Regions from separate parts of the Homo sapiens genome. Here all the other regions are linked to region 1. Evidence: promoter capture Hi-C in 16 types of primary human blood cells and fetal thymus (Javierre and others, 2016). All regions are on one chromosome and are shown on one strand. Each heading gives the region's core, a stretch centred on a gene start or on the middle of the fragment in contact. The rest is flanking DNA. Distances are from core to core; before and after follow the strand shown. Region 1 holds the start of POLR3A (RNA polymerase III subunit A). Region 2 overlaps ZMIZ1 (zinc finger MIZ-type containing 1). Region 3 overlaps ZMIZ1 (zinc finger MIZ-type containing 1). Region 4 overlaps ZMIZ1 (zinc finger MIZ-type containing 1). Region 5 overlaps ZMIZ1 (zinc finger MIZ-type containing 1). Region 6 overlaps ZMIZ1 (zinc finger MIZ-type containing 1). Region 7 overlaps ZMIZ1 (zinc finger MIZ-type containing 1).

Region 1 (3,563 bases), core at 386-2,885:
AATACCCTTAATTTGCACTTTGACAGAAGCACTTTCTCTGTTTTGTGAGAATGTATTATATCTGACTGGGCGCAGGTGTACAGGTGGGTGTGAAGGGCCAGTGTCGATGTAGAGCTACCACATGGGAGAATGCTGCATTCACCTAGGTAAGACACCTGTTCTAGTGAATGGCAACCATCCACACAGCTGCCCAAGCAAGGCATTCTGTATATCCGTCTCAAGGTCTCTCGACCTCTAATTCTTTCCACCATGAATCAAGAGATTTTCCAGAAGGAGAACTCTTATCAAGATACTCTCCTGTTGAAAATCCTTCAAAGGTTCCTCACTGCCTACAAGATGACTTCTTAACACAGCTTCAAGTCTTCTGCTTCCTTCTGATCACCTGTGTTCTCTCCCTCAGGTCTGCTCCTTGAAAAAAGCAGTTTGGTCTGCTTTCTTTTGCCTGGACCCATTATGTGCTCTCAAAACCCCCTGGACCTACCCTTGTCATTGCACTTGTCGTACCCAGTGTTGACTTGTGTACCTTCTCCAACTAGATTAGGCAGTAAAAGTTTTATTCAGACCGTATCTTTAACGTCCAACACTGGGAATAACGCGCAGTATCCTCCTCAGTGTCTGCTGTAAGAATGATGAATTCACTTTTTTTTTTGAGACACCGTCTCACTCTGTCACTCAGGGTGGAATGCAGGAGGTTGCCCACTGCAACCTCTGCCTCCCAGGCTCAAGTGATTTTTCGGCCTCAGCCTCCCGAGTAGCTGGGACCACAAGGGCGCGCCACCACGCCTGCTAATTTTTGTATTTTTGATAGAGACGGGGTTTCGCCACGTTGCCCAGGCTAGTCTCAAACTCCTGAGCTCAGGAGATTCACCCGCTTCGGCCTCCTAAAGTGCTGGGATTACAGGAGTAAGCCACCGCGCCCGGCTGGATTCACTTTCTTACCGAGAACTCTAAGAAGGAGCCACCGCCTAATAACGTATTTCTGAAGGCAAAAGTCCGGATAGCAGCTTTATTTCTGACACTGCCATCCGTCGGCCTGTGGTACAGCTTTCTAGTGGGCAACCCCATCCTTTTGGTAAGCAACTACTGCCTCCGTGTCAGACGCTCTGCGGCTGACAGAATTAGAGACAGTCCCCGCCCCAGATTGCTCCCCTCGCTGCAGCAGGGGATAGTTCGCTGAAGAACAGGGATCATTGTATGACTTCAGGAGAATGCGAGCTTTGGCCCAGGGTGCACAAATCATTAAGGCTCAGGCCACTCCGACTTCTCCGCCCAAGTCCAGGGACCTCTCGAGGTGCTGAAATCCCCTCAGCCTGACCAATGCTCTTTGACCAACGCTGGTAGTTCTGGGCGCTGGTCACACCTATGGACTACTGGCCCTCCCCTTCCCATTGCACCCCATCTCTGACCCTGCAAGACCCGGGACCGCTGACCTCGGACCCCTTGCCCTATTTCTCAGCCCTTTGGCCACTCTTACTCCGTCTTACATTTTCTTGGCCACATCCGTCTCCCGGAACTGCTCCTTCACCATGATGACCGCTGCCGGGACGCCTCCTTGGCACTCGGGAGGCCAGATTAGAGAAACGATGCCCCCAGCACCTCCTGGGGCTGCTTCTGGACTCGCCGCTAACACATCTGCGGCATCCTCTCGGCCACCGTAGAGTGTCCCACGTGTCCGCTTCCTCTTCCGCTACTCGCCCGCGCGTCTGTCTGTCAAGAGAGACTTCCGGCATGCCTTTTTTTTTTTTTTTTTTCCCTTTCCCCGCACCGTCACCTGGTGGCGCTTACTGGAAGCCGCACCGAGGCGTGTGCTGTATTTTAAAAATCCCATTTCTGGTCAATTTCTCCACGTAATCAGACACCCGCAGAGAAACTGCATATAACTCTTTGCCTCAAGGCTTTTAGACAAGCAGAGGGCCAAAACTTGCATAAAATGGAAAATCATCATCATTAACATCAGTACCATCTAAATTAAGAGCTTCTAATTGTTTTAAGGGAAGGTGGAAGCTAAAATGAACCGGCCCATCCAACAGAGGGCACTATCTGTGGAGGACCAACAAAGGAAAACAGAGCGGAAAATATGGGCGCACATGTGCCTCCAGTTCATGAAGTTATTTGGAGGGAGGGGGGAAGAATTAAACTTACATTATTGATTACAAAAACAGTTGAAAATCTGTTAGAGTGAAAACAGCCATGGTAATCTACAGAAGAAAAGGGAGAATGGAAAGTAAAGATCATTCATGTCTTGAAATAAGTTGTCTACAGTCTGTGAGAACTTGTGGGAGGTGATCCTAGTGTGATATATTAGTGCATGAGCCTAGCAAGGAAATCACATCACCACAGGGCTTAGCGCTTAGAATTAGAACTAAGTCCTCATTATTTGTGAGAAACTCAAAACAGAACTTAACAAAAGTGTTTAACAACTTTCAATTTTTAAGAAGGGACGCTATCTCATTTTCAGACGCCATGGATCCTCACTAGCAAAACACAATGTCACAGACAAACGAGGCATATCAGGTTTTTCTAACTCATTTCGGTACTCCATCACTTAATCATGAAATAATGTTGACTATATATATATATATATATATATATATATAGTCAACATTATGGGTTTTTTTTGTTTTTTTTTTTTTTTTTTTTTTGAGACGGAGTCTCGCTCTGTCGCCTAGACTGGAGTGCAGTGGCGAAATCTCGGCTCACCGCAACCTCCGCCTCCCGGGTTCAAGCGATTCTCCTGGCTCAGCCTCCCGAGTAGCTGGGACTACAAGCGCCCGCCACCACGCCCAGCTAATTTTTGTATTTTTAGTAGAGACGGGGTTTTACTATGTTGGCCAGGCTGGTCTCGAATCCCTGACCTCGTGATCCGCCCGCCTCAGTCTCCCAAAGTGATAGGATTACAGGTGTGAGCCACCACACCCGGCTCTGATGTTTACAATATTATACCAACAAGGGTTGGATCGTGTGTGACTTATCTAGAGGTTAAGAGCAAAAGTTATGAAATCACAGTGCCATCATGGGAGTCTAGCTTTCACCATTTAAAGTTGTGTAGGCAGCCAGGCGTGGTGGCTCACGCCTGTAATCCTAGCACTTTGGGAGGCCAAGGTGGGCGGATCACCTGAGGTCAGGAGTTCGGGACCAGCCTGGTCAACATGGTGAAACCCCATCTCTACTAAAAATACAAAAATTAGCTGGGGTTGGTGGTGTGCGCCTGTAATCCCAGGTACTCGGGAGGCTGAGGCAGGAGAATCGCTTGAAGCTGGGAGGTGGAGGTTGCAGTGAGCCGAGACCATGCCATTGCACTGCAGCCTGGGCGACAAGAGTGAAACTCCATCTCAAAAATAAAAAAAAATAAAAAATAAAGTTGTGCAGGCCGGGCGCGGTGGCTCACGCCTGTAATCTCAGCACTTTGGGAGGCCGAGGTGGGCAGATCATGAGGTCAGGAATTTGAGACCAGCCTGACCAATATGGTGAAACTCCGTCTCTACTAAAAAATACAAAAATTAGCCTGGTGTGGTGGCGCATTCCTGTAATTCCAGCAACTCAGGAGGCTAAGGCAGGAGAAT
Region 2 (3,563 bases), core at 435-2,934, 1.3 Mb after region 1:
TTTCCTGCCCTCCTAGGGACAGAGTCCAGGTTCCTAGAGCCTCAGCCTTTGGCCACCAAGGTCACCCACTGGCCCTTACGCTCCCGGCTGCCCAGACCAAGTTTTACTCCTACTGCCACTGATTCCTGGAAAGTACCCCCACTGGGTGGCAGCTCCCCCTGGGATCCGTGATCTTAGGTCCCCATGAGAGGCCCAGTGAGGTTAGGCCACCTAGCCGAACTCCCACAGTGTGCCAAGGGCCAAGCCTCCCAGTCTGCTGATCCTCTGACCCTTGCCATCGCCACATGGTGGAGGGCACAGTGACCAGGGAGGCGGAACAGCTGGCTTCTGCGGGTGTCATCCTGAGTCTGCTGCAGCTTTCTTTGTGGGCTTGGCAGAACATGCACCCACTCTGGGCCTGGGTCTTGCTGGGTATGAAAAGTGCCCACATTGGGGAGTAGCTCAGCAGGTCTGCTCTAGGCTCAGGCCATGTCCCCCACTCCCCACAGGAGCCTGGCCCGCCCCCTTTGTCCCACTCTGCCCCCTCCTCCATAGCAGTAGGGGCAGCACATCCCCTAGGGTACCACAGACCACGGGACAGGGCTGAGTGGCTGCTCTATCCTACAGCCCGGAAGCCTCGGGCTGCTGTGACCTACTACAGCCTCGCAAGAGGAAAAGGACTTGGCTTGTATTTTTACACACTCTCTGTTCCCTGGGGGTGGCCACTATCCCTCTGGGTGACCCCCTCCCCTCCCCATCTCATCCCTTCCTAGGCAACAACTACCAAGGCCATGGCAACTTTGACTTCCCCCACGGGAACCCTGGAGGGACATCCATGAATGACTTCATGCACGGGCCCCCCCAGCTCTCCCACCCCCCGGACATGCCCAACAACATGGCCGCCCTCGAGAAACCCCTCAGCCACCCCATGCAGGAAACTGTGAGTACCTCCTCCTCACCCCATTCCATTCCCCAGCCTTTGGGGTTGATGCCTTGGGATCTGGATACCCTGTTCCCTCCCAGGCAAGGCAGAGGATGAAGAATTGGGTGTGTGGGCTCAGAATGGAATAGGAGGGGTCTAACTGAGGCTACGTCGTGCCCTGTCAGTGTCCTTAGACTTGGCTGTTTTACCTAGGATTTCGGATTCTCTGGAGATGGGGGAAGCTTCAGGCTCTTCCCCAAACCCTCACCACCCCATGCATACACACACACGTGCATGCACTCGCCACTACCCAGCACACGCCATCAGCCCTCTCCCTCTCCCACTTGCACAATCTTACACTCACCTAACACGGTTCCAGCCACCTCAACTTTTGTCCCAAACCCAGGCACTTATTCTCCAAGGATCTGAATTCAGGGTATTACCACCTCCAACAAAAGAAATGCTAGGAAGTCTGATTATCTGAAGAGCATTCACTTCTCATTCTGTTTCACACTTATCGACATATGCCCTGTGTGGCTGAGGACGTCCCTGGTGGGGTAAGGTGTCCTGTGTTGTCCACAGGCCCTCCCTTCCTGTGGCCCCAGTGGCAGTGGCAGGAGGCCCTCCTGTCCCCTGGAGTCCTCATCCAGTGAGTGCCACGTGGTTCCACTCATTTTAACAAGCGTTTTTTGAGCTGTGCTCTGCGCAGGCCATGTGACAGGTGTAAGCAAGACAGACAGGCCTTGGGCTAATGGAGTAAAACTCCTGGCAGTGCGTGGGTGCAGGAAGAACAGTTGGAGTTTGGAGAAACTGAAGCCTCCGGAGGCTGAAGTGGTGTGTCTGAGGTCTCAGTCATTCTGGGCTCTCATCTTGGGGAGGAGGGGCCATCACTGAGCACGTGGCTGGGGGTCCTGGGCCACACCAGCCAGGGAGAGGGCCCGGGGTCCTGCCAGAGTCTGGCAGTGGGCTTGGGTGGCCTGCACAGGAAGGAGCCTCTGGATTATACTGCCTTCCACACACCTGACATGGAATTGCCTCAGGACTCTAGGTGAGGTAGCAGCAACTTTCCCTCAGGACCCCAGGAGTCCAAGTCGGAAATAGATGCTTTGTGGAGCTTTGGCCAAGTTTTTCAAAGTTACTCTCTGCCCCATGGGGCTTGTGATTTCTGGGGGCTTCTTTCCTGATGCCCCTTCCTGGGCCCTGAGGGCATCCCACACCCAGAAGACACCAAAATCACACCCCCCGACACACACACATCCTGCGCCCTCACAGTTCCTAACACTGGAATATGGAGTGCTGATGCCGTCTATTTCCCCTTGACAATCAAGCTTTCTCCTGCCTTCTGTGAGCCCCGCTGCCTGCATTCTGTGTGGCTTGATCTGAGCCTGTGAGTTGACCTCAGAGCCCCTTAAGATGCTCTCTAGATGGTCCTGTCCTCCATTTCTGAGCTCTCACTAGAGGGCAAGCAGACCTGGAAGTGCGGATGTGCCAGGCCGGTGGGGCAGGGCAGTCACAGGTAAACTTCTACCACACCTGCCCAGGTGGAGGCAGCCACACCCCCAGCTGAGCCCAAGGCTGGGAGGCACTGCCATGCCCGCAGAGACTGGCCAGAGCGCTCTATCCAGATGCTGCTGCCCCCACAGACTGCCCATACTTGGTGGCGGGTTGACAGGTGTGTCAGCAGTGCTCCAACAGCACCTGCCCCTCCATGCCGGAGACATTCCAGCCAGATACGAAGCTGAGGGGCACAGCTGCCTCTGAAGATCCAGGGACTGTCTGTCTTGAGCTGGGCTGCACAGCTGGAGTGTGGAGCCCCTCCCTGCTCTCCCAGGGTGGGCACTGAGGGCATCTACAGGAGTGGGAGCCCTAAGCTGGCCTCTCACTGACCATGGGTGGTGGCCCATTCCTCCAGCCTCTTGTATGTGTCTCATAAACGGGTCTCCCAAGGTCTCCAGCAGCACCGTTGCGAGGTCGTCTCATTCTTGGGGCTTGGACTGGAAGGGCACTGTGCTCCCTAAGGCCGCATGGGGTTGGGGCCCTACACCCTGAGAAGGGGACACCTGGACCGTGGGCAGAGCCCGACCCATAGCAAGGCCTGGGAAACAGTTTTAGGAGAAACAGGAAGAGGAAGGAAGTTGGGGATGGGCAAAGACCGAGGATGGTGTGGCTGCAAATTCTAAATGCACACAGGAAGAACATGTCAGTGTGTTCTGTGTGGCTGCCCCAGGATGGGGCAGGGTGAGGGGATGAAAAGACCAAGGAAGCATGTGCCAGGCTGCTGTTCCAGTGGAGCACCTGGAGCATCCGTGAGCCCCTCTCACTGGCAGAGCGAAAGTGGGGCTGGGGGCTGTCAGGGATGCTTGCAGTGGGATCAGGGCTTGGTCTGCGAGGATTCCCCGGCCTTTCACTTTGAAGGAGGATCTGCTTGGGACAGCAAACAGGCTAGCAGGGGAATGTTCACATCTCACCCACCCACCCACAGACAGCCCAGTTTTCAGTGCACGTGCCCACAGGAGGGTGCGAGTCCTCTAGTTATCTGTTAGAGAGGCACCGCCAGCCTCACCCTCAGCAAGACACCCACCATTGGTGAACCGTCACTCAGTCTCCTTGTCCTTGGAGTCCCAGAGGTGCCTGCCTCCCTCACAACCCTGTGTTTTTGAGG
Region 3 (3,563 bases), core at 521-3,020, 1.2 Mb after region 1:
CACCTTCAGGGCAGTGGGGAGCCATCAAAGGCTTTGGAGCCTCAGAGGCACTGGGACTCCTCCTGCTTCTAGGAGCAGGGCTGCTGCTGAGTAGCAGGCAGGAATCGGGCATAGAAGTTGGGAGTAGTGCGAGGTCGGCGTCCTGCTGTGGGAATGTCCCTGCCCCTGCTGACGCAATGGAAAGCCTCGTCTTGTTTCAGGGTTCCTGTTTTGTGGTTGCCCATGGTGGGGGGCGAGGGCAGCCAGCTCTGCCTTCTGAGGAGCTCCGGGAACTGGATGGAGCTTGTCCAGACCTCCCCACAACAGTCCTCTGCTCTCCTGGAAAAGAGAGGCAGTCCTGTTTGTGGAGTCTCTCCCTAGTCCCTCGGGGGATTCTAGCCAGGCCCAGGAGGCTTTAAATCAATGTGTGCATTTCCCTGGGGCTGGGACTGGAGTGGATGGGTGCCAGCGGGTAGTCTCTGGGCTTGCAGAGTTGGTCTCCCACCCTCCCAGGGCTCCAGTGTTGAATCCCTGCTCCCTGGGTCAGAGCCTGAGGCACTAGTGATTTACCAGCTCCCTGTCTGCCTCCCAAGAGCTTATGATCTGATGGGCAGCTTCACTGTGCGCAGAAGATTTAGCAAGGTCTGGTTCAACCCCTGTGTGTGGGAGGCCAGGACTGTGAAAAAATGGGGGGCATGTTTCAGAGAGGAAGGAAAAAGGAAGCCCAAGGAGCCCTTTTTCCTGCCTCTCACTTCTGCTGCTTCCAGGCCCAGCTCTAATGCCATGGCATGGCCCAGGAAGCTTTCCCTGGATCCCCACACCCAGCGTCCGGGGCCACTGTCTCCTTGCGGTCCTTAGCTCCTGTGCACATCCAGGATCCAGCGCTGTACATCAGTAGCTTCCTGTCATCCCTTGCCCACCTGGGTGTCAGCCCACTACACTGACTTGAAGGACAGGCGGTTCGTGACTTGCATCCACGCTGGGTGCTGCGTAAATGTCTGTCAGATGGCCAGCCCGGAGCATGAGGACATGGCGGCCCTGGTCACCCAGGCAGGAATTGAAAGGCTCGAGGTCTTGGCCCAGCTCTGGCTCCCCAGCTTGTCTGTGTGATGTGAGGGGTGCCTGCCTTTCTTGAGGTCCCTGCTTGTAAGGAGCAGCGTGGGATTTACTGTGCTGTCCAGTATAGCAGCCACACATGTATTTAAATGTACATTAGTAAAATTAAATGAAGTTTTCAGTTCCTCAGTCACAGTAGTCACATTTCACGGGCTAGTGGCTACCAGATTGGACAGTGCAGTGGTGGAATGTTCCCATCATGGTAGAAAGATCTGTTGGCAGTGCTGTGCCTGAAGTGGTCACTCTGTGGCCCGCGGGCCTACCCTGTTGGCAGCTCTGGTGACTGCTCCTCTCCCTTTCCCCCCAATGCACGAGGGACCTCCCTGCCCAACTACCCGGGGCTCTTAAAATGGGGCCACCCGGTGTCCTTCCCAAGCCAGTGTCAGACAGTAATTATGAAACCCACATCTGTCATTTACCAGGTGACTTTGAGTAAGTCACCAAGGTTCTCTGAGCCTCTGTTTCCTGATCAGTGCAGTAGAGCTACTTGTCCCTGCCTGGCAGGGTTGCAGTGGGGAGTAAATGAGATGGGGCTAAAAGGCGCTTAGGTTGGTATCTGGCCCATAGTAACGTCTCAGTAGCTGGCAGCTTTCATCACTGTCAGGTGGATTCATCCCCTCGCAGCATGGGCTTAGTTCCAAAACTGGCTGGGCATTAGGTTCCCCTCAAGTTCCTGAGCCCGAGACTGGGTTCTCTCCACCCAGCTCCACCACCAGCCCCCTTCTGTCTGAGCCTCAGTTTTCTCATCTGTACAGTACTCCTGCCTGTCCTTGCCCTGTGTTGCAGCTGGAGACCTTGCTGTGCCCTGTGGAGGGTGGTGCCATCTGGGGGCTTATCCCTCCTTCCAGCATGGCCACTGTAACAGGAGAGCCTGAGAAGGTCAGGGGACAGAGGGGCACAAGTGTGCTTGCCACTTGTCTGTCCCAGAGAGAAGCTGCCTGGCTGTCCCTCCGGCAGCCATCAGGGAGGTCCTAGCATGTGTCAGCTCTGGAGGAAGTAAGCGTGGCCGGCACCCACGTGCCCACTTTCATTTCCCTCTTGGGGAATGAGAGGTGAGAGTCTGCACCCTGGACTTCTGAAGCCCGCCAGTGATTTGCACAAGGACTTCTTCCTTGAGGTCTACCCATAGTTTGTCAGGGTCTGTGAGCCCCTGCATTTCTGGGCAGAGGGTCTGTGAGTCGAGCCATGTTGAGGTGGCCCTTGGGGTCCAGCCATCCTAGTGAGAGTGGGCTTGCAGAATAAGGACTGTGAGTCCAGCCTTGGCTTTCAGGTGCCCAAAGGGTGCCTGGAGAACCCCTCGCTGAGAGGAAATTCTGGGAGCTGGGGAAGGGTCCCAGGAGCCAACACACGGCTTCTTGTCAAACCCTAGGTCCTGGCACCCACGGTGTCCTTGGTGTCGGGATGGGTACTGGGAGACAGAACAGCCTTCAGGCGCAAGGCCGGAAGACCATCCTGGGGAACAGACCACGCGCAGGGAGAAGGCACAGGAAGCTGGGGGGCCAAAAGGGGAGGGGCTTGCTGGGGACTTGTGGCCATTGTAGAGATCGAGGAGGTGAAGACTGGGCACTGCACTGAATTGGGGGTTTCCAGGTGGGGATGGGATGGCCCTCCTGTGGCTCCCCACTGTTAGGAGCGAGAGGCCCTCACCCCACAAAGGTGCCCTCCCAAGCTTGCTCCCTACGTCTGTCCCCCTCCTCTCCTGTCTTCTCCACACACCGGGACCTCTCACCCTGTCTAAGCCTCAGTTTCCTCATCTGTAGAACCGGAGACTAGTACTCATCCCCTAGGGCTGTGGGAGGATTAAAGAGCTCATTCCAGCCAGCACCTTGAGCACAGTGCTGGGATCTCATCGCCCCTGAGCAAACATGAGCTACCCTTCCTGCTCTACGTGGTTCTCCTCATGTTTGTGGGAGGCGTGTTCCTCTGGGTCACTTGTCCTCCTGCTCCCCAGCTTTGGGGCCTCTTTATTGTCCATTGCAGCCCAGCCTATCCAGACACTCCCCCAACCCCTCACCCCATACATCTGTTGGGGGTACCTTTTCTCCAGCATGAGCCCCGAACTGGTAGAACATGCAGAATGCCCATCTTCTCCAAGAGCCTGAGACATCTTGGAGCAAATAGTCCCCCTGCCTCCAGCCAGGGCCCCAGGGCTCTTGGCCAGAAGCTCAGGGCTCACTCAGTGTTTGCTGAGCAAAGGCTTGTGTCTTCCCTGCAGGGAGTGGGGACAGCTTGTGTAACTCTCAGGTATGTCTTCATTTGATTTGCCAGCAACAGGCTCAGAAAGTTACTGGGCAGTCCCGGGATGCCCTGGAAAACGGACAGAAGCCATTGTCCCAGGGGGTCAGGGCAGCAGCACCCAAAACAGAGAAACGCCCTATCCCCACCTTACTAGAACCATGGCAGCCTTGACCGTTGGGTCCTTAGTGGCTTCTAGGAGGCCACTCGGGCAATGGGTCTCCCAGGAGCAG
Region 4 (3,563 bases), core at 464-2,963, 1.2 Mb after region 1:
AGAATCTAGTGGAGGTTGGCCACCTTGAGCTTGCCTCCTGCTCTCCTGCTTTAGAGCTGTGTGACTTTAAGGAACTGACTTAACCTCTCTGATCCTCAGCTGTTGCATCAGGAAACGGGGCTAACTGTAACCCTCGTTTGGTGCTGTCTGCGTTGAGGATTAAATGGGAGGATATAAGGGAAAACTGTGCCCTGCATGTAGTGAAAACTCAGTGTCTTATTTGCTACATCCCAATGACTGAGACAGAATAGGTGAGTGGGTGGTACCCCTGCACCCCTCAAAAAATCACTTATGGGAGGAAGATGGCTGGTATGGGAAGGAGGATACTGTGTGTTGGACAGCAAAGGGGAAGCAGGAGGACGGTGTATTTTTGGAGGTCACAAGATACATAATAATTCATAGGTATACATAATAAGTATTGGTGGTAGGGTTACATTATCGTTACTGTTCCTCTCTGACATGAATGTCAGAGTGTAGAGGGCTTTGAGGATCACCTAGCCCAAGCCCCAGTTTAATCTGAGAAGAGACTGACACAGGGTGGGGGATGCAATCTTCCCAGCATCCCTCATCGTACCAGGGGCGAGGCTGGCATTACTCCTGCTATTATTGCCACCATACCTTTATGTGAAACCCTAACATCATCCTACTACTACTGCCAATCAGTTAAGGAGTTACCATGTTTTAGATGCTAGGCAAAATACTGCATGCACATCCTCTCCTTTCAGCTTTACGAAAATATTAAGGTGCAGGTGCGGAAGGAATGTGAGCTAAACCCCCTCCTGCTTCTTCTGACTTGGTGTCCCTGTGCAAGATGTGCCACTTTGAGCCTCCATTTCCTCATCTGTGGAATGGGAACAGCACCACCTGCCCCCTGGGGTTCCAAGCATCCAAGGGGCTAAGTGATAGGAAGTACTGATGCCCAGTACTGGTTCCATGAATGCCTGGGGAATCTGGAGGCTCCCTCTTGGCTCCTGGCTTCCAGCCACGCCCCCGACACCAAGGCCTCTGTCAGTACTGGTTGTTCCTCAGTGCAATTAGGTAATTAGGCCAAATTCAATTACACACCACACTCCCAGGTTTGTCTGGGGCCCAAGGGGGGTGTGGGCTCCCCTTGTTGAGGGGGAGCAGCAGAAGCACTGGCTTGGTTCCCAGGGCTGGGCCTTCCCACTGTGCCTCTCAGAATACTGCCTGCATCCTGCATCGCAGCTGGGGAGACTGAGGCAGGGAACAGGCAGCATTGCTTGGCCCCTGCCTTAGTCTGTTCAGGCTGTTATAGCAAAATACCTTTGACTAGGTAACTTACAAACAATAGCAATTGATCACTCCCTGTTGCAGAGGCAAGATCAGGCTCTGGCAGATTTGATGTCCAGTGAGGGCACGCTCCCCGTAGATGGCACCTTCTGGCTGTGTCCTCACATGGGTGCAAAGAGCGCCCTCAAGCCTCTTTCATAAGGCACTGGTCCCATTCATGAAGGTGTATTCCTGATGACCTAATCCTCTCCCAAAGGCCCCAGCTCTTCGTACCATCTCAATGGATTAGATTTCAACACGTTAACTTAGAGAGGCACAAACACTCAGACCACAGCAACCCCAAACCGTAGCATCCACAGGGCTGAGATCACCATGCCTGATTTTTTTCCCCTCCTGGAGAGCGTCACCCCAGACTGCTGGCCCACAGCTCACCTTCCCTTTCAAATTCATCAGCAGGGGCCTGGCTCCTCATCCTCTGGAAAAGCCCAAAGATTGGTAGGGAGGGTGGGGGGGCCTCAGCTTCCCTCTGCCACCCCTGGATTTGCAGCAGTTTCCCCTCCTAGCTGCAGGCTGGCACCCAGCTGCTGCCCAACACTTTGATCGGCATATGGATCTTTTGGGAGAGCAGGGGCTCTAGTGAAGTTGGGCAAACCAGAGTGTATATATGTCTTTAAGGGTCTTGCCGGGGGAGTCAGGCGAGAGCAACCCAGGCTGAGGGCAGCAAGATGGCCCTCCTGGAGACCAGGCATGACACTTCTAGGGACCACATCATCTGAGTCCTTGAATGCCAATCTAAGGAGCTTGAACTTGATCTTGACACCCCTGGGGAGCGAAAGAACGTTTTAGACAAGGGATGACATGGTCAGATTTGCCTCAGCAGGTAGAGGAGGGACTTGGGTGCTAGAGGCAGAGAACATAGTTTGGAGGCTGGTGCAGTTGCCAGGATGCCAGGACACCAGTCTGCTGGGGTGGAAGTGTGCCGTGTGTGGAGGGAGAGAAGCAGAGGTGACTCCCCAGCAATGCCTCGTGCCCACGCCCTTCCCTGGGCCTCGGAAGCTCAGGTGGTGACATGGCTGTTTTATGCTTGACTCTTGACTTACCAGTTCTGAGGATGGATGGTACACAGCACCTTTCCCAGGGAAAAGGTCTTAACTTTGGATTTCATTCTGAAATGAAAGTGGTTTTATGGAATTTTTCTTGTAAGTCCAAAGATAATACATACTATGTGTAGGACAATCAAGGAATACAGAAAATTATAAGAAAGTAAAGCTGACATCCCACCACTGTGGAATAACTTGGTGAATATCCATTAGTCATGCAGGAAACATTTAACATACTTAATAGATAAACATACTTAACAGATAAACCACAAATAAATATAGGAGAATGGAACCATAGAGGGCCTGCCACCTTGGAACCAGCGTCTTTGCCTTGACAAAATGATGTGTGTTGTAGACCTCTTGCCTGGCCCACCTGTCAGCCTACTCCGGCCTTTACAGGGAATTAGCAGGAGTCAGTTCAATAATGACATTTCTTCTTGGAGCCTACCCAGCCAGACTTGGGGAGGCCAGTGCCCCCGGCAGCAAAGAGAGGTATGGCATCTACACTAGATGTCTTCACTGGGGGAGAGGGGATTAGGGTCCAGAGAGGGACAGTGACCTGCACCTGGTCACACAGCAAGCTCCCAAGCCCCTTTCCAGGTAGCATCTGTCTCAGTTGGGGACTTGGCCTCCTGGGCCAAAGAGCACGCAGTTCTGTGAGCTCAGCTCTGCAGGCCCTGATTTCAACATCAGGCCTCCCACTCCTTGCCCTGCCCTGGCGGCCACCTTTGGATTTCTCCCAGACATTCCTGTGCAGCCTGTCAGCTCATGTCCAGAGCCCCTGGAGGTGGGGGACACCTGGGACCACACTGGGGAATGAAGGAAGCCGCTGGCTCCCCTCATCTGCCATGGACCAGGAACAAGGGGCTGGAAGGGAGCAGGCACCCGGAGAACCTCCTCTCACACGGGGTGGTGAAAGGAAGGCAGGAAGGCTGCACCGGGTGATGAAGGACTCCTGGCAAACTTTTCATGGGCTTGGGAGGTTCCTAAAACCGCGCAATTGCTGCCCAGAGCACACCGAGGTGCTCGGGCTTGCTTCTCAACCACCTCTCCTCCTTTTACCTCTCCTAGCACCCTACAGCAGGCCTCAGAAGCCATAAGCCCACCAGTACAGGGTCCCTTCTGCAATTCTCCATCCTCAGCTCATATGCCTCAGGTGACAGGCTGCTCCCTGCTACTCCCTGGCAGCCCTGACTGTCAGAAATTCCTTCC
Region 5 (3,563 bases), core at 354-2,853, 1.2 Mb after region 1:
CACCCGTCTTCTTCTTTTTTTTTTTAATTTTTTTTAAATTTTAGAGACAGTGTCTTGCTCTGTCGTCCAGGCTGGAATGCAGTGGCACGATCATTGCTCACTGCAGCCTTGACCTCCTGGGCTTAAGCGATCCTCCTGCCTCAGCCTCCTGGGTAACTGGGACTACAGGCACCTGCCACCATGCCAGGCCAATTTTTAAATTTTTTTTTAATTTTTTTCTTAAAGGTGGGGCCTTGCTATGTTGCCCAGGATGGTCTCAAACTCCTGGGTTCAAATGATCCTCCCACCTCAGCCTCCTAAGTACCTAGGTACCACTGGCCTACACCATCACACCAGATTAAAAAATTTTTTGCACAGATGGGGCTGGGCATGGTGGCTCATGCCTATAATCCCAAGCACACCTGAGGTCAGGAGTTAAAGACCAGCCTAGCCAACATGGTGAAACCCTGTCTCTACTAAAAGTACAAAAGAAAATTAGCTGGACGTGGTGGCACACGCCTGTAATCCCAGCTACTCGGGTAGCTGAGGTAGGAGAATTCCTTGAACTCAGGAGGCGGAGGTTGCACTGAGCTGAAATCGTGCCATTGCACTGCAGCCTGGGCAACAGAGCGGGACTCTGTCTCAAAAAAAAAAAAAAGAAAAAAAAAATTTGTGTACAGATGAGATCTTGCTATGTTTGCCAGGCTGGTCTTGAACTCTTGGGTGTAAGCTATCCTGCCTCAGCCTCCCAAAGTGCTGGGATTACAGGTGTGAGCCACCATACCCAGTCAAGTTCTCCGTCTTGTGTCTGGACTTTAGTTTCCCTGTCTGTGGCGTGAGGCTGGGTTCCCTGACCTGTGAGGTCCCCTGGCTCTAGGGGTCTAGGTGTCTGGCAGCCAGGATGACAGGGCAGCCTCAGGAGTGCTTCCCCCTGCCACCCCCACCCCGCCACCGTGGGTCAAGCAGCAGTACCTGGACAGCCAACAGAGGGTCACAGCGCCCCAGCCACTCACACTGGCCTTTATGGGGAGGGGGCCTTGCACCCTATAGGACCTTCACAGAGAGCATCATGACCACTGGGGTGAGAATGGGCCTCTCTGAAAAACAAGCTGCACAGCTGAGCCCACGCTCCCACCACTGTCAGTCAGACCTTGCCTCACAGAACTTTCTGGGGGTCCTCAGGCTGGGCCAGAGGAACCCAGGGGATAGGAATGCATGAGGCACTCTAGGGTTACAGGATTTGATTCAGCTCACTCTGCCATACCTGTGCTCTGTGGCCTTGAGCACGGTCCTGCCCTCTCTGGGCCTTGACTTCCTCATCAGTGAAAGGAGGCTATTGGAGCCAGTGACCCTTCTGAATGCTGGGGCACAGGGGACTTGGTGACAAGCAGAGACTCCCTGCTCCAGCACCCACCCGGCTGGCCCTTAGAGCCGCCATACAGCACCAAGCCCCTCTAGCTCAAGTTAGCTAGTATTTTTTCCTTTTTAACTAGAGCAACAGGATTAGCCAGTATTGGCCAAACATGGGGACTTTTGCCTTCCTGCCCTGAACCCAGGGCCTGAGGGTCCTCAGTGCAGGTTGGAAGTTATGGCGTTAACCCTTTGTGGACTGAGAAAGAAGTCTTAGCACAGAAAGAGCCCAGAGTTTTCAGCTAGACTGCCTGGATCACATCCTGTCTCTGTCACTGACCAGCTTTGAGGTGTTGTTCAACCTCTTTCCTCATCTGTAAATCAGAGATAATAATAATAATACCTATCTCGTGGAGCTGCTGAAAGAATTTGCACTTTGTTGCATACAAAGCACCTATGTACGTGGGAGCCAGCATTTTCACTGCAGCACTTGTAAGCATCAGTGTTTCCCATTGACAGCAGCCTCACTACTGCACCAGTCGAAACAGGCCGCTCTGTGCTCACAGGCATCCACCTGAAGTTCTACAAAGAGGGAGGGCACCAGAGTCCACGTATGAGCTGCAGTGGTCCCTCCAGCCCAGAATCTTCCTCCTCACTCTCTGGAGGAGAGTCTGCCTGCAGACTTGAAATATTCAACAGGCCATAAAGAGTTAGGGACCTTGGTTTTTCTATGTGGACAGTGAGACTTATGGTGAGGATGTCCCAGAGACTGGGACATGTAGAGGGGCAAACAGAGCCCGTGGGAAAGAGGCCTAAGGAGTGTGGAAGACTTCTGTGCCAGGGGCTTCTGTTTGCAGCAGAGACGTTGAGCAAGCATCCTAACCTAACAACATCCTTTTTCCTCCCAACCTGGCTCAAACATTAGCCCTACACAGAGGGGCGCAGGGAGGGCCACAGTCCCATTCCAAGAGTCACTGGTGATCCTGGGAAGGGGAACCCATTGGCTCCTCCCTGATTTAGCACGGGACATTTCTCTGAGTCTCCAGTGTTGTTTTAAATTGGCCTAGGTAAGTGGTGTTCCCAGCCCTTTTAGCCCCAGAGCCCCTTTCACAAATTCCTGAGATTTAAGGCAGGCGTGGGGAACGATTCTGTTGGATCTAGGGGCCAGGCCAAACCCCATGGCAGTCTGAGGCCCCTCCAGGCGCCTCTGGAGCAGGTGGTTCCTGGGGGCTTGGCAGCAGAGTCCCCCCTTTTTCAGAAGTACCAGCCTACCACATCTGGGTGCTCTCCCTACTCAGCCATAGCCACTCCAGCTGCTTTCTAAATGACTCCATTTTCCAAGGTCCTTCTTAATAAAGAAAGCTAATTTTGCTGCTGTTCATGAGGAAGGCGGGTGTGAGGGAGCAGATCTGGGAGTCATGGGACACCTGGGAATGGGTGGGGACAGAGTGAAGCCAGAGCGGCAACAGCTTGCAAAGCCACCCAAGGGTCCCCTGGAGCGCCCCGTCCCACACTGCCCCCCAGGGGACCGATGGCCCTCCCAGTCTGCCGCCTCTCACCCTGCCAGTCCCTACTTCTGAGATTTTAAGGAGATGGGTGGGACCTTCAGGCTCCAAACACACCATTGCTGTTATGGAAGCCCCCCATTTGCTGGGGCTTAAGGCTAGAGACAGACCCCAGGCTGAGCGTGGGAGTCCTGCGGTTTCTAGCTGAGGTTGAGGGGGCTGCAGGGTGCTTGGCACGGAGCAGCATTACAATGCCTGCCCCATCCCGGAAGCCTTAGTCGATTAAGCAGCTCTGACCTGAAGCCCTGTGGGAAGCAGCTTGTTCTAAATCACCGCTTTTTTTTTTTTTTTGAGAAGGAGTCTTGCTGTTCTGCCCAGGCTGGAGTGCAGTGGTGCGATCTAGGCCCACTGCAACTTCCCCATCCCAGGTCCAAGCGATTCTTCTGCCTCAGCCTCCAGAATTGCTGGGATTACAGGCGCCTGCCACACACTCGGCTAATTTTTGTATTTTTAGGAGAGACGGGGTTTCACCATGTTGCCCAGGCTGGTCTCGAACTCTTGACCTCAAGTGATCCACCTGCCTCAGCCTCCCAAAGTGCTGGGATTATAGGTGTGAGCCACCACACCTGGCCTAAATCACTGCTTTAGATGAGATGCATGCTGACTCGGAGGGGCAGGGCTGGGCCTAAGAGTCTGCATTTGTAACAGGCCCCCCTGTGGTGCTGATAG
Region 6 (3,563 bases), core at 544-3,043, 1.2 Mb after region 1:
TTAACTGATGTGACATAGAGAACCTAGTGTTTAGCACATATAGGTTTGATAGTTGTTCAGTACCTCTTTCCACTCTGAGGAAACAAAGTGTAGGGGTGTGGCCTCCTTGGGAATGAGAGAAAGCCCAAGGGGCCTTCTCCAGAGCTGAATCCAACCCTCCTTTGCCTCTGGGGAAGAGAAGCTGTCAGAGAAAGTTCACTGTGAGGTCAGGGATTTGGAGTATGGCCAGAGGATGGCAGGGGGGTTTGGCCTCAAGGGCATGGCCTCCTCTAAAGTGCCATGTGCCCAGAAAGACAAGGCACACCAAATGCAGCTAGGATCCCAGCCCTGTGTGGGTTGGGTCAGTGGGCTGGCCCCTTTGTCAGGGCCACATCACTGAGTGTTTCCCCAGGAAACTGTCACTTCTGAATTAACTTCTGTGTCCCAGGGCAGGTTGCTAGGCATAGCTGTGTGGGGCTGACTGTCATGAAGCCCCCACTCTGAAATGCCAAGGTTACATTATGTTATCCCACTAGCCAGCATTGACAATGGGTGTTCCCGTGAACAAGGATGGGTGTTGGGAGATTGGATCATGAAGAGAAGTGGGTCCACCCTTCCGGAAGCTTTGAGTGCCAAGCCAAAGCATCTGAACTCTGGTGGGGCAGTGTGGAGCCGTGTCAAGTCTTGGCACAGGAGCACTGCCCTGGTTGAGGAAGGAGGGACTGAATTCTGAAGAGTTGTGGTCCGAATGCAGAATTTCACTTTTTAAAACACTGTCCCCTAAGTATTCATTTGCTCAGCTCCTCAACACAGTGGGGCAGGGAGGAGATGGACTTTCCTGCTTGACAGATGAGGATGCAGGCTCAGGAAGGTGAAATACCCTCCCACAACCTCATAGCCAGGAGGTCTGGCTCTCAGGACCACTGCCTACCCAGGGGCCCCACCCTGTGCAATGACTCACGCTGGCCCGAGGGCCTGCTCCAGTTGTCCTGCTAAGAGCTGGAAGCAGCTGGCCCTGTGCAGCTGCCCGGAGCTGCCTCTTCCATCCCTCTCCCCATCTCGTCTCCTGTCTCTCTGCCCTTCTTTCTGACTTCCCTGAGGTAGGGCACAAAGTCACTCTCCTACTGTCCTTGCTTCACCACCACCCTCTTCCTCTGCATCCAGCCCGTGTGCCTGGTGCAGGCTACCGAGGTTTGGGAATGCGCGAGCCACCTGCGACGTGACCACAGGCAGCTTCCACACCTCTCTGAGCTTCTACTCATTACCTTTAAGGTGAGGAAGTCATCAGTCTACATCAGTGCTTGCCTAACCTTGGTCACTTTCATTCCGTTCATACTATGTTTAAAACAATTCTTTAATTCACTTAGGTCTGCTATTGCTACCTAATTTAACTGCATGCTAAATAATAACATTCATGAACTCATCAGTCCAAAAACTTCACTATGAGAATGTAAAAGGTTTGTCCATGGACCTTCTAAAGTCATCGTTATCCCACCAGAAGTACATGTATCTCTCTTTGGGAACCCTCAACGGGGTAACCAGTGTCTCTCTGAGTCCTAGGATCTTCTGATTATGGCTGGGTGATGGGTTTTTCAGCTCTCACCACCCTGGTTCTCATGTACACCCAGCAATGGGCGTGCGTCCACCTGCCTGTTCACCCATCTAATGAGTACCTGCTGAGTACGGAGCCCTGGGCTAGACTAAGGGATCTGTAACTGGAAGACATTCCAGCTGATGGAGAGACAGTTGCAAGGAGTCAGCCCTCATCTAGTGCTGCTACGATGGGGGTGTGTGACAGCGACATGGAGGGGATAGGGATGGAAACCAAGAAAGAGCACGAAAGAGTGACAGTTGAGCCATACCCTGATGGATGGGAGGTGTCCAGGCATTGCGGGCAGAGGGACAGTCAGAGGCAAAGACATGGAGGTGCGATCTTCAGAGCACAGTCCGGGAGGCAGGGAGCAGCCCCACGTTGGGGACAAGGGATGTGACTGAGAGTAGTGAGGGCTAGGGGCCAGGCCGAAAAGGATCCCAACTGATGCTGACATGTGCAGGTTGGCAGGTCATTGCTGAGCCCAGGGCTCATGAAGTTTGTCCCTTTGGGAGTCTAAGGCTGATGAAGGGGCTGTCTGGGATGTCCTCTGGACCCCTAGGCTTTCCCTTCTGGCTGTGTCTTGGAACGCAGCCTCTGCTCGCGGGCTGTAGGCAGAGCTGCCCACTCCTGCCACTGGCACCGCTTGCCCCAGGGGACCTAAGCTGCAGATGTGCATGGTGATTGAATCATTTCTGCACACCACTGCTCACACAGCTCCCCGGGGACCCCCACTTGCCTGTGCAAGCTGTCATGAGATGTGTGTGCTCAAGTGCATCTGTGTTGGCATCCAGCATGTGCACATACCTGCTGTGAAGTATGCAAGGGGTCACATGTGTATGTGCCTATGCACACGTGTGCTGTGCAGACGCCTCTCTCTGGGTGCGTGTGCATTATGTGGACTGATGAACTAGTGAGGCCTCAAAGGTGGGAAATAAAACACTTGTGTTGGGACAGCTGACTGTTCGGTTGGCTGCCACCCTTGGGAGCTAGCTGCCTGTGGAGCTCCACATTTCTGTGGGGCAGCTAGAAGCACCTCATCCCTGTGTCCAGTGAGGAGCCCCCTGAGGGCTGTTTGCCTCCCCCAGCCGTTGAGACCGTTGAGATGCTTCTCTCCTTGCTGACTTGGCAGCCCAGAGATATCCAGGGCTCTATTTGGACCTGTCAGAGGGGCTCCAGCCCAGCTCTGCTCACGATGCCCTCCGTGTCCTCTTCCTCTCCCCACCTCCGCTTCCCACCCTGCTGCATGAGGGCATGAGGCAGGTGTTCCCAGGCCTTTTCAGCTCTCAACGTTCTATCCTCCAAGCAGCCCTCTATACATAATAGCCGCTAACTTTTCTTGAACTAGTCTTCTGCACCAGGCGCCGCTAAGCATAGACACCCTCGCTCTGCTGGGTGGTGAGAAGTGTAAATGGAAGCTTGGTCCCGAAAGACGTCCCACGGGAGTTGGGAAGACCGAGCTGACCCCATGTTACCATCCAAAAACTTCCATTTGCCCAACTAAGCCCAGCCAAGCGTAAGGTGCAAGAAGAAGCACAGAGCTGTGAAAGGGGCAGCGTCTTGGCCTTGGGCTGCCCTGGAAGAACAGCTCCCGGGGCTGCCGGGCCTTCAGCCTCCCCATGGACCTGCCTTGGGACAGGCTTTGCAGCTTCAAAAGCAGGCATTCTCCTCTTGTGGGGATGGTGTTTTCTGAACAGCCGGAGCTCCTCACAGGGAATCCTAAGAGGCTGGTATTTGACAGGCTGCCAAAGGCTGGCCAGCCCGATCCTGTGCTTTGCAGACAGCGAAATGGAGGTCCAGCTCTCTGCCCTATTCACTCAGCAAAGCAGGGTCCTGATCCCCCATGCTGATTAGCTTTGCATGGCTCCTGGCTGCTCTGACCAGGAGACATGGCGGGGGTCCTGAGCCGGGATGGGGGTAGCCTGCTTGGTCTCACCCCCCATTCAGGGGCAGTAGGAAGGGCTGAGGCCACGGGTGCACCTGGGGCCAGGCC
Region 7 (3,563 bases), core at 419-2,918, 1.1 Mb after region 1:
CTTTCTTTCCCCAGCCCATTCCCTCCTTCATCTGCACACAGGCACCCCATGGCCTTTTTTTGTCTCTGTTCCTCCAAGCCAGCCATCTGCTCTTTCCCCACTAGACTGTATACTCCTTGAAAGCTCAGGGCAGGCTATGAACCATGTCCCCAGCACAGTCCCTGGCCAGTTCTGTGTTGAAGGGCAGCTGAAAGCCACAGACAGGCACCCAGCTTGTGCACCCTCAGCTTCCTCTGGGCATAGCAACAAGGTGATGTCTAGCATCCCAGTTGTTAATGTGCTTGTGGGCCGTATTAAGAAGGATTCGGAGGCTGTGTGCGGACTCCACGAGAAATAATGCTGTGCATCGTGTGGCGCATGGTCACGCTCTCAGCCCTGCTCCCTGGGTATCAGGTCTGCTTGACTGATGTCTCAGCTCTGGGCTGTGGCCAGTGCAGGAGGAGAGAAGAGGCAGGGACCTCAGTGTGACCCCCACAGGTGTCCGTCCACCCTGGCTGCTGGGTGAGCTGGGCCCCAGAAAACTTTCTAGAGCCCCCAGGGAGCTGACTGGTTAACGGAGAGCAGGAAATTTATGGTTGCTGAGCCTTTGGAAGCTTTTTGCTCACATCTGCCTCCCCCATTAAGTGCTTCTCACCCTTCTTCAGCTCCAGTTTGGGAAACAGCAAGCACATCTTGCCTCACGGCTGTTCTGGGACCGTCTACCGCTCCCCTGAGGCATCTTTAGGGACCTCTGTTGGAGCCTAGGGGAACATCTCTGCTTCATAACCTCTGTGAATTGCTCCCGTGGTGCCACCTCCATCTGGCCCACCCTCAGGTTGGTGGGACAGGCTGGCATGAGACGGCCCTCGCCCTTGCCAATAGCCCCTGCCAGTTTTCTCTGGTCCCTGGCCTCACCCAGACTTCCCGTCACAACCCCTGACCCCTGCCCTTGTCACCACCTGGGGTGCCAGCCCCCTGTGCTTCGTTGCCTCTGCCCCCAGCAATTCCCTCTCAGGTAGGGGTTCCCAGTTGCCTCCTGCCCGGCAGCTCCAGCGTGGTCAAGGATTGAGCCAGGAGGACTTTGATGCACTAGAACCTATAAATAATCTGGAGCATTTTTATCTGTGTATGGAAGAAATGCAACAGACTTCCTTGCATCCTGTAGCCAGCTTAGCCTGTCCACAGCCACAGCTCCAGAAGGGCTGATAAAGATCGTCTCATCCCTGGTATTGACTCCTCCAGCTGCTGCCCAGACACCTCCATTGCTGGAGAAGTCACTACACAGTTTTGCTCATGTAAATTCAGTGTGATAGAGGATAAAGTGTGGCGTGTGGTCAAAGTGTGTGGGTTTCAGGGACAGACAGTCCTGGGTTCAAATCTCTATTCTTCCACCTATCAGCCAGGTGAGTCTGGACAAGTTTCTTTCATCTTCAACTCACCTGTTTCCTCATCTGTAAAGGGGTGCAGTGCACCCACCTGGCAGGATAAAATGCAGCAATAGCTACACAGCACCAGTCCTCTCTGTTAGCAGCAGACTGATGCCCTTGGGGAGATACCTCCCACCCCTCAAACAGGAGCATCTGCTTGAGGTGGGCATTTGTTAGCTCTGGACCCAGACACTTCCCTCTCCAGAGACAATGGACCCCCAGGTCTTCTCTTGAGCTTTCAAGTGGGAACTTCTAGGAGGATACTTTGAGATGGAGACACAGTGCTTCCCAGGCATGCTAGCACACCCAGGCCACCTGGGACACCTGTTTAAATGCAGATCACCAGGCCCCTCTCCTGGAGTCTGATTCTGTAGATCTGGAGTTGGGCCTAGGCCTCCAATTTTTAAACAGATGCCCCCAGAAAATACCTGTGATCTGGCCAATCTGGGACACACTGGTGCCTGCAAAGGGGAGCTGGCCTAGAGACTTAAGCCAGTTCCTCTCTGTGGCTCAGTTTTCACACTGATAAACCAGGGGTTTAGATGACCTGGCAGGGATCTTTCTGCCCTTAAAACCTCATGACAATCAGACAGACATTCCCTGATGTCCCCTCTACCAGGGGCAGATCTGTGGGTTTCCGCCCCATTCCTTTTAGCCACAGAGCATTTGGCTCAGCAGCCTTCTGCCAGCCTCAGAGCCCTAGGGATAGATAGAGAAGCTGTTCCCTGGGTGTCACATGCCATTTATTGGCCATTCCCTTGCCTTCCAGGAGGCCCTAACTCTGCAGGCATTAGCGGAGTCCACTCAGATCTGAGATCTTTTCTGTAAGCTGAGCTGGATCACTAACTGGTACCTACTGGGAGGTAGGGCGGAGGCCAGAGTGGGTGGGGGCAGTCCTGCAGCTCCTCTGAGGCATCTGGGAGCCTTAATAGTTAATACACATGAAAGCCTGCAGCATTGGAACTGCAGAATGACCCCGCAGAGCCCTCCCTGTCTTGTTACAGATGAGGAGACTGAGGCCCAAAGTGGAACGTGCTGGCTAGGAGGATGTGAGCTCTGGGAGCTCCACGTGGCTCACAATCTGGTCTCTGGGCCAACCCATGCGGCCCACCATGCCTCTCGTTGTGTGGTCCATCTAGGATGGGCAGCCCCGCCAGGCTTAAGCCCTCAACTTAAGCTGCTGAGCCCCTAGGAAAAGAGAGTGCCATCTCAGGACAGGTCCGAGGGGCTGCCTGCTCCTGAACACTGGTCCCTTCTTGGACCCGCACTGTCAGCCTAAATCAAGAACCCCCTCCCAGCCCATGGGTCCTCCCACCCCAGCCAGGGCAGCCCCCATGGAAGCTTTCCAGAAATATCCACGCACAGTGCGGTGAGCTCCAGAAATGAAAAGGCTCTCACACTCCCTGCTCCCTCCCGTTTTCCACTCACTGCTGCTCAGGGGAGTTAATAAGCAGAGGTGAAAAAGCTGGCCCTGTCCTGATGAGATCTCGTTTGAGGCAGCTGGGTCTGGGCTAATGCCAGAGAAGGAATTCTTCACTGCCGGGCCTTCACTCCACCGGGGATGAGGCCAGGGCCTAGAACTTAGGGACTGGCCTGGGCTGTCGCTCAGAGGATGCCGGGGGCCAGAGCTTTGTCTCCTTCCTGGGCTGGGAGTCCCACTGGGTCCTTAGTTCACATGTGGTGCCTGGTACAGCACCCACCTTCAGGCCTCTGCGCAAGTCAGCCCCTCTCCACTGCTCTCTCTATCTGTACTCAGTAAGGCAGCAGTATTTAGTAAGCACCTACTATTTGTGTGGGTCTGTGCTCGGCTCTTCAGGAGACAAAGAAACAGACCTGTGCCAGCCACAGGGGAGCTCACAGTCTAGGCCACTGTAGGTCACATGCAGGAAGAAAATTTGTGATGCACCGTGTCCACGGGGCAAGGGATGTGTTGAGATCAAAAGAGGAGGAGTCCTTGGGGAGTGAGGGCCTATGGAAGGCTTCCTGGAGGAGGATGACTGTAATGGATTGACACTCAGAGCATTTCAAGAATTTCAGGTGGGGCTAGGGCTGGGGCAGGTGATAGTGCTTGTACCAGAGCATCACTGGGCACACACCTGGCCCTGTCCTGCGACAGGAAGGCCCAGCAAGGACGGAGCCATGCTATTGAGGCAGCCA

Evidence for each region. The method cuts DNA at HindIII sites, captures the fragments that hold promoters and counts their contacts. A CHiCAGO score of 5 or more calls a contact.
Region 2: a fragment that was not itself captured here is called in contact with the fragment with the promoter of POLR3A in region 1 in 4 of 17 cell types (naive CD8 T cells, activated CD4 T cells, total CD4 T cells and 1 more); the score reaches 6.7 in naive CD8 T cells.
Region 3: a contact is called between a fragment that was not itself captured here and the fragment with the promoter of POLR3A in region 1, in 1 of 17 cell types (total B cells). The highest score is 7.9, in total B cells.
Region 4: a contact is called between a fragment that was not itself captured here and the fragment with the promoter of POLR3A in region 1, in 6 of 17 cell types (total B cells, activated CD4 T cells, total CD4 T cells and 3 more). The highest score is 11.6, in total B cells.
Region 5: a fragment that was not itself captured here is called in contact with the fragment with the promoter of POLR3A in region 1 in 12 of 17 cell types (naive CD8 T cells, activated CD4 T cells, total B cells and 9 more); the score reaches 13.9 in naive CD8 T cells.
Region 6: a fragment that was not itself captured here is called in contact with the fragment with the promoter of POLR3A in region 1 in 13 of 17 cell types (total CD4 T cells, naive CD8 T cells, naive CD4 T cells and 10 more); the score reaches 46.6 in total CD4 T cells.
Region 7: a contact is called between a fragment that was not itself captured here and the fragment with the promoter of POLR3A in region 1, in 4 of 17 cell types (total CD8 T cells, naive CD4 T cells, naive CD8 T cells and 1 more). The highest score is 6.9, in total CD8 T cells.

Annotation. Positions count from the first base shown.
Region 1 is chr10:78,027,880-78,031,442 of GRCh38, forward strand. POLR3A (RNA polymerase III subunit A) reads right to left here and starts at 1,636. Exons shown (of 31, transcript NM_007055.4): 1 at 1,485-1,636. The coding sequence starts at 1,528. RefSeq lists an enhancer at 1,556-1,805. The HindIII fragment of the contact is 13,008 bases long and covers 1-3,563 here.
Region 2 is chr10:79,306,653-79,310,215 of GRCh38, forward strand. It overlaps ZMIZ1 (zinc finger MIZ-type containing 1), which reads left to right. Exons shown (of 25, transcript NM_020338.4): 23 at 753-919. Among named protein-coding and RNA genes, the nearest start is that of PPIF, 39 kb to the right of the region's middle. The HindIII fragment of the contact is 1,086 bases long and covers 1,142-2,227 here.
Region 3 is chr10:79,248,422-79,251,984 of GRCh38, forward strand. All of the region lies in intron 7 of ZMIZ1 (zinc finger MIZ-type containing 1), which reads left to right. Among named protein-coding and RNA genes, the nearest start is that of PPIF, 97 kb to the right of the region's middle. RefSeq lists enhancers at 1-547, 548-1,461, 711-760, 2,171-2,250 and a cis regulatory region at 1-426. The HindIII fragment of the contact is 1,984 bases long and covers 779-2,762 here.
Region 4 is chr10:79,232,028-79,235,590 of GRCh38, forward strand. The region is part of intron 7 of ZMIZ1 (zinc finger MIZ-type containing 1); the gene reads left to right. Among named protein-coding and RNA genes, the nearest start is that of PPIF, 110 kb to the right of the region's middle. The HindIII fragment of the contact is 5,014 bases long and covers 1-3,563 here.
Region 5 is chr10:79,212,133-79,215,695 of GRCh38, forward strand. The region is part of intron 6 of ZMIZ1 (zinc finger MIZ-type containing 1); the gene reads left to right. Among named protein-coding and RNA genes, the nearest start is that of PPIF, 130 kb to the right of the region's middle. The HindIII fragment of the contact is 8,674 bases long and covers 1-3,563 here.
Region 6 is chr10:79,191,902-79,195,464 of GRCh38, forward strand. The region is part of intron 4 of ZMIZ1 (zinc finger MIZ-type containing 1); the gene reads left to right. Among named protein-coding and RNA genes, the nearest start is that of ZMIZ1, 120 kb to the left of the region's middle. The HindIII fragment of the contact is 2,386 bases long and covers 601-2,986 here.
Region 7 is chr10:79,168,340-79,171,902 of GRCh38, forward strand. All of the region lies in intron 4 of ZMIZ1 (zinc finger MIZ-type containing 1), which reads left to right. Among named protein-coding and RNA genes, the nearest start is that of ZMIZ1, 100 kb to the left of the region's middle. RefSeq lists an enhancer at 2,689-3,478. The HindIII fragment of the contact is 2,154 bases long and covers 592-2,745 here.